Regions from separate parts of the Homo sapiens genome. Here region 2 is linked to region 1. The links are contacts of gene promoters, found by promoter capture Hi-C in blood cells and fetal thymus (Javierre and others, 2016). All regions are on one chromosome and are shown on one strand. Each heading gives the region's core, a stretch centred on a gene start or on the middle of the fragment in contact. The rest is flanking DNA. Distances are from core to core; before and after follow the strand shown.

The links. The method cuts DNA at HindIII sites, captures the fragments that hold promoters and counts their contacts. A CHiCAGO score of 5 or more calls a contact.
Region 2: a fragment that was not itself captured here is called in contact with the fragment with the promoter of P4HA3 in region 1 in 4 of 17 cell types (M1 macrophages, megakaryocytes, M0 macrophages and 1 more); the score reaches 9.0 in M1 macrophages.

The regions. Positions count from the first base shown.
Region 1 is chr11:74,308,781-74,314,640 of GRCh38, forward strand. It overlaps P4HA3 (prolyl 4-hydroxylase subunit alpha 3), which reads right to left and starts at 2,860. Exons shown (of 13, transcript NM_182904.5): 1 at 2,632-2,860. The coding sequence starts at 2,831. It overlaps P4HA3-AS1 (P4HA3 antisense RNA 1), which reads left to right and starts at 2,582. Exons shown (of 7, transcript NR_120556.1): 1 at 2,582-2,669; 2 at 3,045-3,166; 3 at 3,339-3,439. The HindIII fragment of the contact is 4,256 bases long and covers 825-5,080 here.
Region 2 is chr11:74,568,456-74,574,315 of GRCh38, forward strand. No RefSeq gene overlaps it. Among named protein-coding and RNA genes, the nearest start is that of POLD3, 21 kb to the right of the region's middle. The HindIII fragment of the contact is 192 bases long and covers 3,074-3,265 here.

The sequences.
Region 1 (5,860 bases), core at 1,610-4,109:
ATAAGCATAAAGGCTTAGCATTTGTCCATCAATTGTTACATGCCAGGTACAATGATAAAAACTTTTACATGGTACTCTTAATCCTTCCAAAAACCCTATGGTGGTAGGTACTATTTTTATCATCATTTTACAGATTAGGAAACTAAAGCTCAAAGAGGTAAAGTAACTTGTCCAAGATCAGAGCCAACGATTCAAATAGAGGTCTGTTAAACTCCTGAATTCACTGTTAACCACCATGTACTGTGGCCACTAGTAAAACCTCAATTAGTTAGGGGCTTGGTCTATGTCTTGGTATAACAGATAAAAGAAGTGGTAGGGATAACATAGCATAGTAGGAAAAAAGTTGGATAAACAATCAAAACAACTGTGTCCTAGTCCTGGATTTGCTACCTATTAGATTTATTAATACAATCTTGAGTGAGCAACTAGACTTTAGTTTTCTCATGTTTTAACTGATTTCTCAATAGTTAACAAGTGTAATACAAATCTATTTCAAAGCATTGTGTGTGAGAGAGAATCAGATGAGATATGGTTTGTATGAGACCTCCTGCTGTGACAAAGTTGTGATAATGACAGTGGTGGAAAGACAGTGAAGGAGACCAGCATGGTGGAATGGGGTTGGCCAGCTGCTTTGGCCAAAATGCTTCAAGTGCTCTCTTCTGAGAATGTAACCTGAAAGACCAGCAGGGGGATTTTGACCCCCCACTCCCGTCTCCATCTGAGCTACCCAAAGAGATTACTGGTATGAGAACAAGCATGGGTAGCAGGGAGAATGCTGGGCTCTGAAATCAAAGAGAAAAAATTCTGTCCTATTTCCACTAATAAGCTTGGACTCCAATGACTCTGGGCTATGAACAAAAAGAAAACATTTGGCTCGGTCAACATGGACCCATAGAATACTAGACAACTATGCTATTCCAAAGAGTGACAATAATTATTGAAATGATCTTCATTTATTGTTAAAATTAATACATACCTATATTGTATATTGTCACACTATTTCAAGCTGTTTATACGCAAGCCACATACTTAAGGACAAGCACCACATTAGCTCATTCAGTCACTATTAACAAGATCTCTCGCAAATACTTTCCACCCACAAAATGCTTCTCTTCTACATAGCTCTCTCTCACAGTCATGGGGTCACAAAGTTTCGCACAGGGTGACAATGGGTTTGGGGGTCACACTGGACCTCAGAGTCACTCCCCATTCCACATACCTTCTTCTCATGTCACCCCAGAATCAGTATTATTACCACACACACTCACGCAAAGTTTTAAAAGCAGTGCATTGTGCTGTCTTTGCTCAATGATAAGGTCACATGATATAAGTACAATATTAATATATCCAAATAGTGACGTGGTCATAACCACTCTGTCAGTGTTGTAGGCTTCTTGATGTCCCAGGCAGAGAAGGCGCAGCACATATTCATACAGATGGTATCATATACAATCATTTATCTTTCATTTTTGTCAGTTGGACACTGCTAAGTCGATACATGACTATGGTGCCTCAGCATCCCAAGTCTGACAACCTTTTATGCCACAGTGTGTAGCACTAGAGTTTGTTGACTGTACCCCAAAACTATATTAGCTGAGCATCCACTGCTGTGTGCTACACTCAGTATCTTCTGCATCAAGTATGTTTTTTCACAGTGCTTTTTTGATATCAAATATGTTGACACACATATAACATCTCAGTTATCATTTATTTAGTATTTAGAGAGCTTCTACATGTGTAAAGAGAAGGAAGAACTGAAGACGTAGACGGCAGTGGACATCTCTGATTAACAGTCATGGTGCTACAGACCCAAACTCCTCGAGGGCAGAGTTGGCTCTTGATCACCATTTTATCCCCACTGCCTGGAACACTGCCTGGCTCTTAGTAGGCACTCAAAAATATGTGTTGTATGAATTAATGAACTGAAGCATTATTCATATAGCGACCTGTACAGTTACTCAGCATCATTCACATGCAGAGTATGATATCCACAGTGTCGTGCCCATCCAGTCCCAATGACATGTAAACCTCACATATGGTGGAAGACTGTCACCTGACTCCTAACACTAAACATCAGCTCACTAGGTCATGCGGTGTTTCACGATCCCCCCTTGAAAGGTCAATACTTGCGTAGCTAAAGCGTCACCGTATTCTCTCCATGTCACTCTCACAGTGTCTCTGTCACAGCACCGTCCACTGTGTCTGTGTCAGTGTGACACAGGGCCTGGGGCTCACACAGCTTTGCACAGCACATTGTGAGGTCCTAGAGTCACCCCGCCCCGCTCTTCCACAGTGTATCAACTTTGCTGTGTGACGCTGGATATGGGGGGTGCCACTATGTGTGTGATGGAGTCTGCAGTCCCAGTGTGACCCAACCCTCGCCAACACCTCATGCCACGGAGTGTCAGGGTCCCACACAGGGTGACAATGGGTCTAGGGGGTCACACTGGCCCTCAGAGCCACTCCCCACCCCATGCCACAATGTCTCAGTCGCACGGTGCGACAGTGGGTCTGGGGTCCCACGCAGCATGACAATGAGCCTGGGGTCACACTCAACCTGAGTCACCCCACCCTGCGGCACAGTGTATCCCACTGAGGCCCCTCGGTCGCTCCCACTCGTCGTGCCCTCACCTAGTCAGGTCCCGCAGCCGCGCCTCCTCCCCGCGCAGGTACCGCCTCAGCAGCCCCAGCAGCCGGCGCTCGGGCGCCAGGGCGCGCGCCACGCTGGTCAGCGCCGAGAACGTGTCGCCCCGAGCCGCAGCCCTTTCTGGGTCTCCTGTCCCGAGCGCCAGCACCGCCAGCAGCGCCGCCAGCCGCGCCCCAGGACCCATAGCCAGCGCTCGCGAACTTCCCCTCAGACAGTCCTGGCCGCGCGGCGGCAGCCGCTCCCGCCCTCGCCTGCCCCGCCCCTGTCTCCGCCCCCTCCCGGCTCAGGCCCCGCCCTCTGGCCCCGGCCCGGCCCGTCCCGTCCACCGCCCAGTCTCGCTCCACGCCCCCTGACTCCTTCCTTGTTTCGACGCCTCACCTCGCTCTCTATTCCTCAGCTCCTCGGAATGCGTGGGGGCTTCCTGCAACATCAGTCTCCGCCGCCCTCCACTAAATCGCGACCCTGGGAAGGTGTTTCCACTGTGCCCATCACACTAGGGGAAATTGAGGCGGAGGCAGGGTGAGCGATGAATTCACAGGTCTAAGGCTGTGACTATCCCCAAATATTGTTAACACCACGCTCACAGGATCCCCAAAATATCCGCCCCTCTGTACCATGGAGTGGGAATACACAAACACCACTGGATCCCCACAGGGACGTCCAGAAGAGTCAATTATGCGTATGTGAATAGGTGCGCAGGCAAAGAGCGGCAAGAGGACAGCTGGGAGGAAAACCCTCACAGAGAGCGTGACATCTGAGCCATCTGAAGGATAAGTAGGACTGTGTCAGGATGTGAGTATATGACAAATCTAGGACTTACAGAACCTGAAGCTCTGGGGTCCTAAAGTCACTGCTTTACACAATATACTTAGAGTCACTTAAGCAAATAAAAATATTATTATTATTATTATAGCCTACTAGGCTATGTACTCTATTTCCCCCCTCTTATGCATTTCCCAGGCAATGTTCATTCATGCAACAAATATTTATTAGTACCTGTGTTACTGTGCTGCCTACACAGAGAAATAGCAGATCCAATCCTGGACTCAAAGGAGGAGACAGTTATGTAAACAAGTAATCACAATAAAGTGCTGTCAGAGTAACTGAGGGTTGTGCAATATGCAATGGCAACACTGAAGAAGGAACCCTCATGTAGTGGGTGGAGAGGGCATCAGAGAGGAGGTGATGGGTGCTGGTTCAAAAGGATGAAAAAAATTGGAAGTTGACAGGCAAGGGAGGAGTGGGCTTTCCTGGCAGAAGGTACATGGGCGTGACAAGGTTTGGAGGTGGAAAACAGTTTGAGTTCCAGAAATGATGAAAAGTTTCTTGTGCTTGAAACTATCAGATTGTGAAAGGTCTTTGCATGTCATACTAAGAAATTTAGGTGCTTGTCCTCTATGAAAATCCAGTGGAAGTTTTTAAGGTAGCAATAATTGTAATAACAATGGCAACAGTAAACATAGTAGTTAATACTTACCGGGTGTTTCCTGTGTGGCAGTCGCCATCCAGAGTATTTTACATATATTAACTCATTTAATCGCTGTCCAGAGTATTTTACATGTATTAACTCATTTAATTCTCATGCTGACCCTATAGCCTAAGTAATATTAGTATTCTTACAGTATTATTGGCCCCACTTTACCGATGAGAAGACTGAATTGTAGGGACAATCATTAACCTACTCAGTGTTAATCACTTGTGGACCACATTCGAGGTGTGCTGGTAAACCAGCTCTCCAGGAAAAAAATAAAGTTCTGGTTTGTGGCATTTGCCAATTTCTGTGGTGTCAATTCTCCCACAGTGGCTAATTTCGACATGCAAAAATGTCACCACTGACTGTGGTTGGATAAAGATGCCAACAACTCCTGTGAGCTGGGGTGAGCCAGCTCCAGCACACCACTGCTTGTGTAGACATGAGATGTAACATGCAGATCCCCCTTCGAAGAAGGACTTGTTGCACAGCTGCAGGGTATGTGATGAGAAGAGTATCCAGTGGTCAGCTGCTTTAGGGTCTGTCCTATAGCAGAGAGCAGTCTCGCTTAGGGAAATGTCCTTCCTGGAACAGCCCTAATCCAGCAATGGAGCAAGGTGAGGGAATCAAGGCCTAGCCATTTTGGCCCATCGTGAGACAATTCTTACAGGAAATACTAGCTCCAGCGCACCTGCCACCTTGATCAAGGCTTTGTCAAGCCTCTTTGACTTCTTCCTCTGCCTTTTCCTGCTTCCTTTCCCTTTCGTAGATGCTGATCTCTAATAAACATCTTGCACCTCAAACTCCAGCTGTGCCTCTGCTTCTAGAAAACCCAATCTGTAACATCAATTCAATCAACATACATAGTAAGTGGTAGAGAAGGGACTTGAACCCAGGTCATGTGGATCCTGATTCCATATTCTTAATCAATACCAGAGGCAGATTTACCTAGAAGGTTTTGAAGCTTAAGCTTCAAGGCTCCTAGCTTGCACAAACCCTTTCTAACTGAGTAGCCTTCCCATAGAAGGTATTCTGACCATAGAAGATTAGGGACTGTGGTAGGCAGAATCATGCCCTCCCTCCAAAGATGTGCATGTCTTGATTCCCAAAACCCATGACTGTGTTACCTTACATGGCACAAGAGACTTTACAGATGTGATTAAGTTAAGGATCTTGACATTGGAGGATTATGCTGGTTTATCTTGGTAGTCCCGATGCAATCATGAGGGTCCTTAAAAGTCATAGAAGGAAATGTGACAATGGAAGCAAAGTCAGAAAGATTTAAAGATACTTAGTACTATATTGCTGACTTTAAAGATGAAAGAAGAGGCCACCAGTCAAGGATTGTGAACCGCTTCTAGAAGCTGGAAAGGCAAGGAAACAGGTTCTCCTCTAGTGCTTCCAAAAGGAACAGAGACCTGCTGACACGTTGATTTTAGTCCAGTGAAACCCATTTCAGACTTCGGAACTCCAGGGCTGTAAGACAATATATGTGTTGTTTTAAGCCACTGTGTTTGTGGTCATTTGTTTCAGCAACAGTAGGAAACTGATAAAGGAACCCAAAGGTATCTGCTTTGTATTGTCTCTGTCTCTTTAGCCCAAGTGGGCAGTACTTCTATTGATAAAATCATCTTAAAACCTTTGAGGATTTCCTGTAAATCTTATTGGAGTTCTTTCCGTTAGACAAAAACCATATCTATATTTCTTCCCAAGAAGTGCCCTTCTCTAACTTGGGCTGAGAC
Region 2 (5,860 bases), core at 1,920-4,419, 260 kb after region 1:
GACTTTTAGTGTATTTACAAATATGGGAGACTATCACCATAGCCAATTTTTATTACCTCAAAAAAAATCCATATGCTTTAACTATCATTTCCTACCCCCACCCACACCCCCACCCCTCCCCAGCCCTGAGCAACTACTGATGTACAAATTTCCCTATTCTGGACTTTCACATGAATGGAATCATATAGCATGTAGCCATTTGCAACTGTCTTATTTTATTTAGCATGATGTTTTCAAGGTCCATCTATGTTGTGGCATGTATCAGTACTTCATTCCTTTTTATGGCTGAATCATATTCTATTGTATACCATGTTTTGTTTATCCATTCATTTGTTGACAGACATTTGGGTTATTTCCATGTCTTGGCTATTACGAACAATGCTGCTATAAACATTCATACACAAGCTTCTGTGTGGGCATATGTTTTCATTTTCTGCCCATTTGTTGACTCTAATTCTTCAGGCTTTCTGGTGACTCCATGAGTTACAGAAAATTATCTTAAATTTTTTTCTTATTCAAATAAGACAATATTGATTTCTGTTAGCTGGATTCACTTGCAGCTAATTTTTGTAATTTTTTGTACAGACATGGTCTTGCTGTGTTGCCCAGGCTGGTCTCAAACTCCTGGCCTCAAGTGATCCACCCCCATCAGCCTCCCAAAGTGCTGGGATTACAGGCATGAGCCACCACGCCCAGAATTTTCTTACTTTTGTTAAAAGACATGAGGACTTAACTATTTTCTCTGGGGCCCAGTTCTTAGTCCCAGAACAAAAGGGCTATAATTGGCTAATGTGACACACTTCCCAGTTAACCTTCAGTGCTGAATTTAATCTTCCTTATACATTGATGTAGAGAATGAGATCCAGAGAAGGAAAGTGACTTGCTTAAGGTCACACAGCCAGTCAGTGGTACAGTTAAGACTAGAATCTAGAACTCCTTATGCCAACTTAATGTTCTTCCCCCTACACTAGGCCTCCTGTCATCAATTCAACAACTGTTTGTTAAGCTCTGTGGTCATAGGATATATGGAAGAAGCAGGGGAGACAGAGTCCAAAGACATGATTTCTGCTCCTGGCTTTGCCACTTCCTACCTTTGTGACCTTGGACAATTTATTCTGTGTCTCTGGGTCTCAGCTATCTCATACAAAAAAGCAGGAGTTGGAGATTGGAGGCTAGGCAGGGAGAGCGGTTGGATTAGAGGGGACAAGCTCAAATGCCTACAACCTCCGTTTCATTTATTCAATTACATTTTATTCACTTATAATTTATCACCTCCTTTTTTTTTTGAGATGGGGTCTCACTCTATTGCCCAGGCCAGAGTGTAGTGGTGCTATCTTGGCTCACTGCAGCCTCAACCTCCTGGGCTCAAGCAACCCTTCTACCTCCTTCTCCTGTGTAGCTGGACCTATAGGCATGTGCCACCACTTCCAGCTAATTTTTGTAATTTTTTGTACAGACAGGGTCTTGCTATGTTGCCCAGGCTGGTCTCAAACTCCTGGCCTCAAGTGATCCACCCCCATCAGCCTCCCAAAGTGCTGGGATTACAGGCATGAGCCACCATGCCCAGAATTTTCTTACTTTTGTTAAAGACATGATCAATAAATATTTCACACATTAAAAAAAATGTTTAGGCCAGGTGCAGTTGTTCACGCCGATAATCTCAGCACTTTGGGAGGCCGAGGCAGGTGGATCACTTGAGCCCAGGAGTTGAAGACCAGCCTGGGCAACATAGGGAGACCCCTGCCTCTACAAAAAATATGAACCTTAGCTGGTATGGTGGCACGTGCCTGTAGTCCCAGCTACTCAGGAGGCTGAGGTGGGAAGATAGCGTGAACCCAAGAGATGGAGGTTGCAGTAAGCTGTGATTGTGTCACTGCACGCCAGCCTGGGTGGCAGAGTGAGACCCTGTCTCAAAAAAAAAAAAAAGTTTTAAGAAAAATAATAGTACAACCACCTTGATCAATGGCAAAAATAACTTGGCCTCAGTGTTGGGAGAACACAGGGAATGATAAGGACCAAGGCTCACCATGGTAGAGCACAAGATATTTGGATTTTTTAAAAGCCTGAAATATGATTTTACTAGGACATCCCTTATTCTTTAAATTTGGGCAATTAATTCAATTAAACTTTTTCATACAGAGCGTTTTCTAATTGTGTATTGAGGTCCTATCTTTATTGTTATTCTTCATGGAGGAAGGAGCGGCAATAACTCCTAATGGGAGATAGCAAAAGGAGAGGTGACTCTGCCATCTGCTGCTCACTGATGGTATGTACCTACAGGCCTTCAGTAGGATTTAGGTGCCACCCTTATAAAGGGTCAGCTCTGAAAGTCTTTGCTGGGGACATCTCCAATATCCTAATTTGATGGTTGGGGTGTCAGGCACATGGAGGCCTTATATCCCAATACCTGGAAACCATGAAGCCGGCTCCAAGGTAAAGCCCACAAGCTGAATCTGACCTCTGGTAGGCATCAGGCATGTGTTGCCACAGAGCTAAAAGTGTGGCTGGAGAAGGACGAGAGGAGAGGAAAGAGGATTGCGGTGGGAGTCGCCAAGAAAGCTGGAAGCCATTGCACAGCTCCAGGAACAGGGGCAAGGGCTGAGGTAAAAAAAAAAAAAAAAGAGAGAGAAATGAGTGGATTTGAGAAACAGTACAAGAAAATCCGACTTGATAAGACATTGGATTCAGAGAATGAAGGGCTGGAACTGCCAGTGCCTGCCAGTGAGTTGTACTTTGTGCTACCAACTAATCTTCGTAGAACTTCAGTTTGATTATTCATTACCTCCAGCCTATTTTGGCTTCCTACTGAAATCAGGACACAAGGAAATTTGTCACCAGGTAGACAATAAATGTCCCTCCCCACCCCCTGCCAGTCACCCCACTAGTCTTATTAGGAATCCTACACTTGGTAGGAATTAAGAAGTCTTGACTGTGAGTCCCAAGTTCAGTCATTTTCTGGCTGACTGACCTTGGGGAAAGTGACCAAACACCTGGGAGTTTAGTTTTCTCATCTTCAGTTTACTCATCTGAACAATGGAGCAATGGCAACAACAGCTCCCTTTAGGCTGAGCCAAGCTTCATACAAGCTAATGTCAGACATCTATCATCTTATTGAATTCTTGCAACCCCAGGAAATGGGCACTACCATTACCCCCATTATTCAAATGAGGACACTGAAGCTCTGAGAAATTGAGTGGCTTGCCCAAGGCCATATAGCTAGAAAGTGGGAGAAGCTGTCTTTCCAACTCAGACTGCTTAGCTCCAAAGCTTTACTGCTCTGGATCTCTGTCTCAGTGAGCTTTTGCTATAAAATGACCCACCCTGAAACACAGTGGCTTAAAACAACAATCATTTTGTTTAGTTCACAGTTCTAAGGTACAGTATATTTATACAGGTCACAGTTTTGATCTTGGCCAATTTAGCTGATCTATGCTGGATTCCCACATGCATGGGTCTGTGGATAGCTGGTAAGTTGGCTCAATCACATATTTGGTGACTGGCAGTTGGCTGGAGCACCCTGATGCTCCTCCATATAGCCTCTCATCTTCCAGCAGGCTAGCTTAGGCTCATTGACTTGGCGGGCTAAAGATTCCAAGTTTAACAAGAGAAGACAGGCCAGATGCAGTGGCTCACACCTGTAATCCCAGCACTTTGGGAGGCTGAGGTGGGAGGATCATGAGATCAGGAGTTCAAGACCAGCCTGGCCAATATGATGAAACCCCGTCTCTACTAAAAATACAAAAATTAGCTGGGTGTGGTGGTGCATGCCTGTAATCCCAGCTACTCAGGAGACTGAGACAGAAGAATCGCATGAACCCGGGAGGCAGAGGTTGCAGTGAGCTGAGATCACGCCACTGCACTCCAGCCTAGGTGACAAAGCGAGACTCCATCTCAAAAAAAAAAAAGAGAGAGCAGACAAGCCTCCGTGCTCAAGCATGTTTCAAGTCATCGCAAAGCCAAACCAGACTCAGAGTGCAAAAGCACTTTCAAAAGGTGTGGGTAGAGGGAAGGGGATAATCTGTGGTCATTTTTACAATCTGCCATAAATGCTATGCTATAATCCCTGTTTCACAGGGTTGATCACATGAGATAAAGAATGTGAATCAGCTTTGACGTGAATCAGCTTTGTGAACTTCTATAAAATATTGTCCAGAGGAGTGGCATTGTTTAATGATTAGTACTGTATGCCAATAGTACCTCGAACTCAACACATCTGGTAATTATCTCCATTTTCCAGATGAGGAAACTGAAGCCTAGAGAGCTTAGGGGGCTTGCACATGATCATACAGCCAGAATCTGAACAGAGATCTGTGTGTGCAGTGCTCTTCAGCAACTTGATTCTTTATTGCATTGTTCTATAATCCGTTTTCCTGAGCAGGTCTTGTTTTCCCAACTAAAATTCCTTAAGGACTTTTTTTTTTTTTTTTTTTTGAGATGGACTCTCACTCTGTTGCCTAGGCTGGAGTGCAGTGGCGCGATCTTGGCTCACTGCAACCTCCATCTCCCGGGTTCAAGCAATTTTTCTACCTCAGCCGCCCGAGTAGCTGGGACTATAGGCACGTGCCACCAACGCCTGGCTAATTTTTGTGTTTTTAGTAGAGACAGGGTTTTGCCATATTGGCCAGGCTAGTCTTAAACTCCTGACCTCATGATCCGCCTGCCTTGGCCTCCCAAAGTGCTGGGATTACAGGTGTGAGCCACTGCACCCGGCCCTTAAGGACGTATTATAGGTCTTTTATTTCTTTTGTGGCCACGGTGGTGGCTAGCATTATACTAAACACATGGTAGGCACTCACTAAAGACTTTTCAAATGACTGAATCACTCATTCATTTATTTATTCCCTTTTTAAGCAAACATTTATTGAACACCAATTATTACATAGGTCCTGGACACTGAGAATACAGAAATAAATAACACAATATTCCTTTTCTTAAGAAACTCGCCTAGTTAAAAAAAAAAAATTCAACCTGACACTGTAATCTAGCATGATAGAACCTCAAAGGGTTATGACAGCAAAGGAAAGGAGCCCTAAACTAGCCTGGCAGAGAAGATACCTGCCTTCTTTATGGCTGAGGACACTGAGGAGGATACTTCTGAAGAGAGCACAGCAGATGCAAAGACTTGTGGGAAATAACACGGTATGTACCTGGACTTATCAGCAGTCTGTGTTGCTGGAGCATAGGTAAGAAGCAGCTAGGGGTGAGAGGTGAAGTTGAGGTGGTAAGAAGCTCAAACTTGATCTCTTTTTTTGGGACAGGGTCTTGCTCTGTCACCTAGGCTGGAGTACAGTGGCGTGGTCACAGCTTACTGAAGCCTCAAATTCCTGGGTTTAAGTGAACCTCCCACCTCAGCCTCCCCTGTAGCTGGGACCACAGGCACACGCTACTATGCCTGACTCATTTCTTTATTTTTTGTAGAGATGGGGTATGACTATGTTGCCCAGGCTGGTCTAAAATTCCTGGGCTCAAGTGATCCTGCCACTTCAGTCTCTCAAAGTGTTGGTATTACAGGTATTAGCCACAGCACCCGGCCTCAAACTTGATCTTAAAAGCACTGAGAGGGTCAGGCGCGGTGGCTCACGCCTGTAATTCCAACACTTTGGGAGGCTGAGGCGGGAGGATCACAAGATCAGGAGTTTGAGACCAGCCTGGCCAATATGGTGAAAACCGGTCTCTAATAAAAACATACAAAAAAAAAATTAGCCAGGGGTGGTGGCGGGCACCTGTAGTCCCAGCTACCCAGGTGGCTGAGGTAGAAGAATCGCTTGAACCCAGGAAGCAGAGGTTGAATGAGCCGAGATTGCACCACTCCACTCCAGCCTGAGTGACAGAGTGAGACTCCGTCTCAAAACAAACAAAC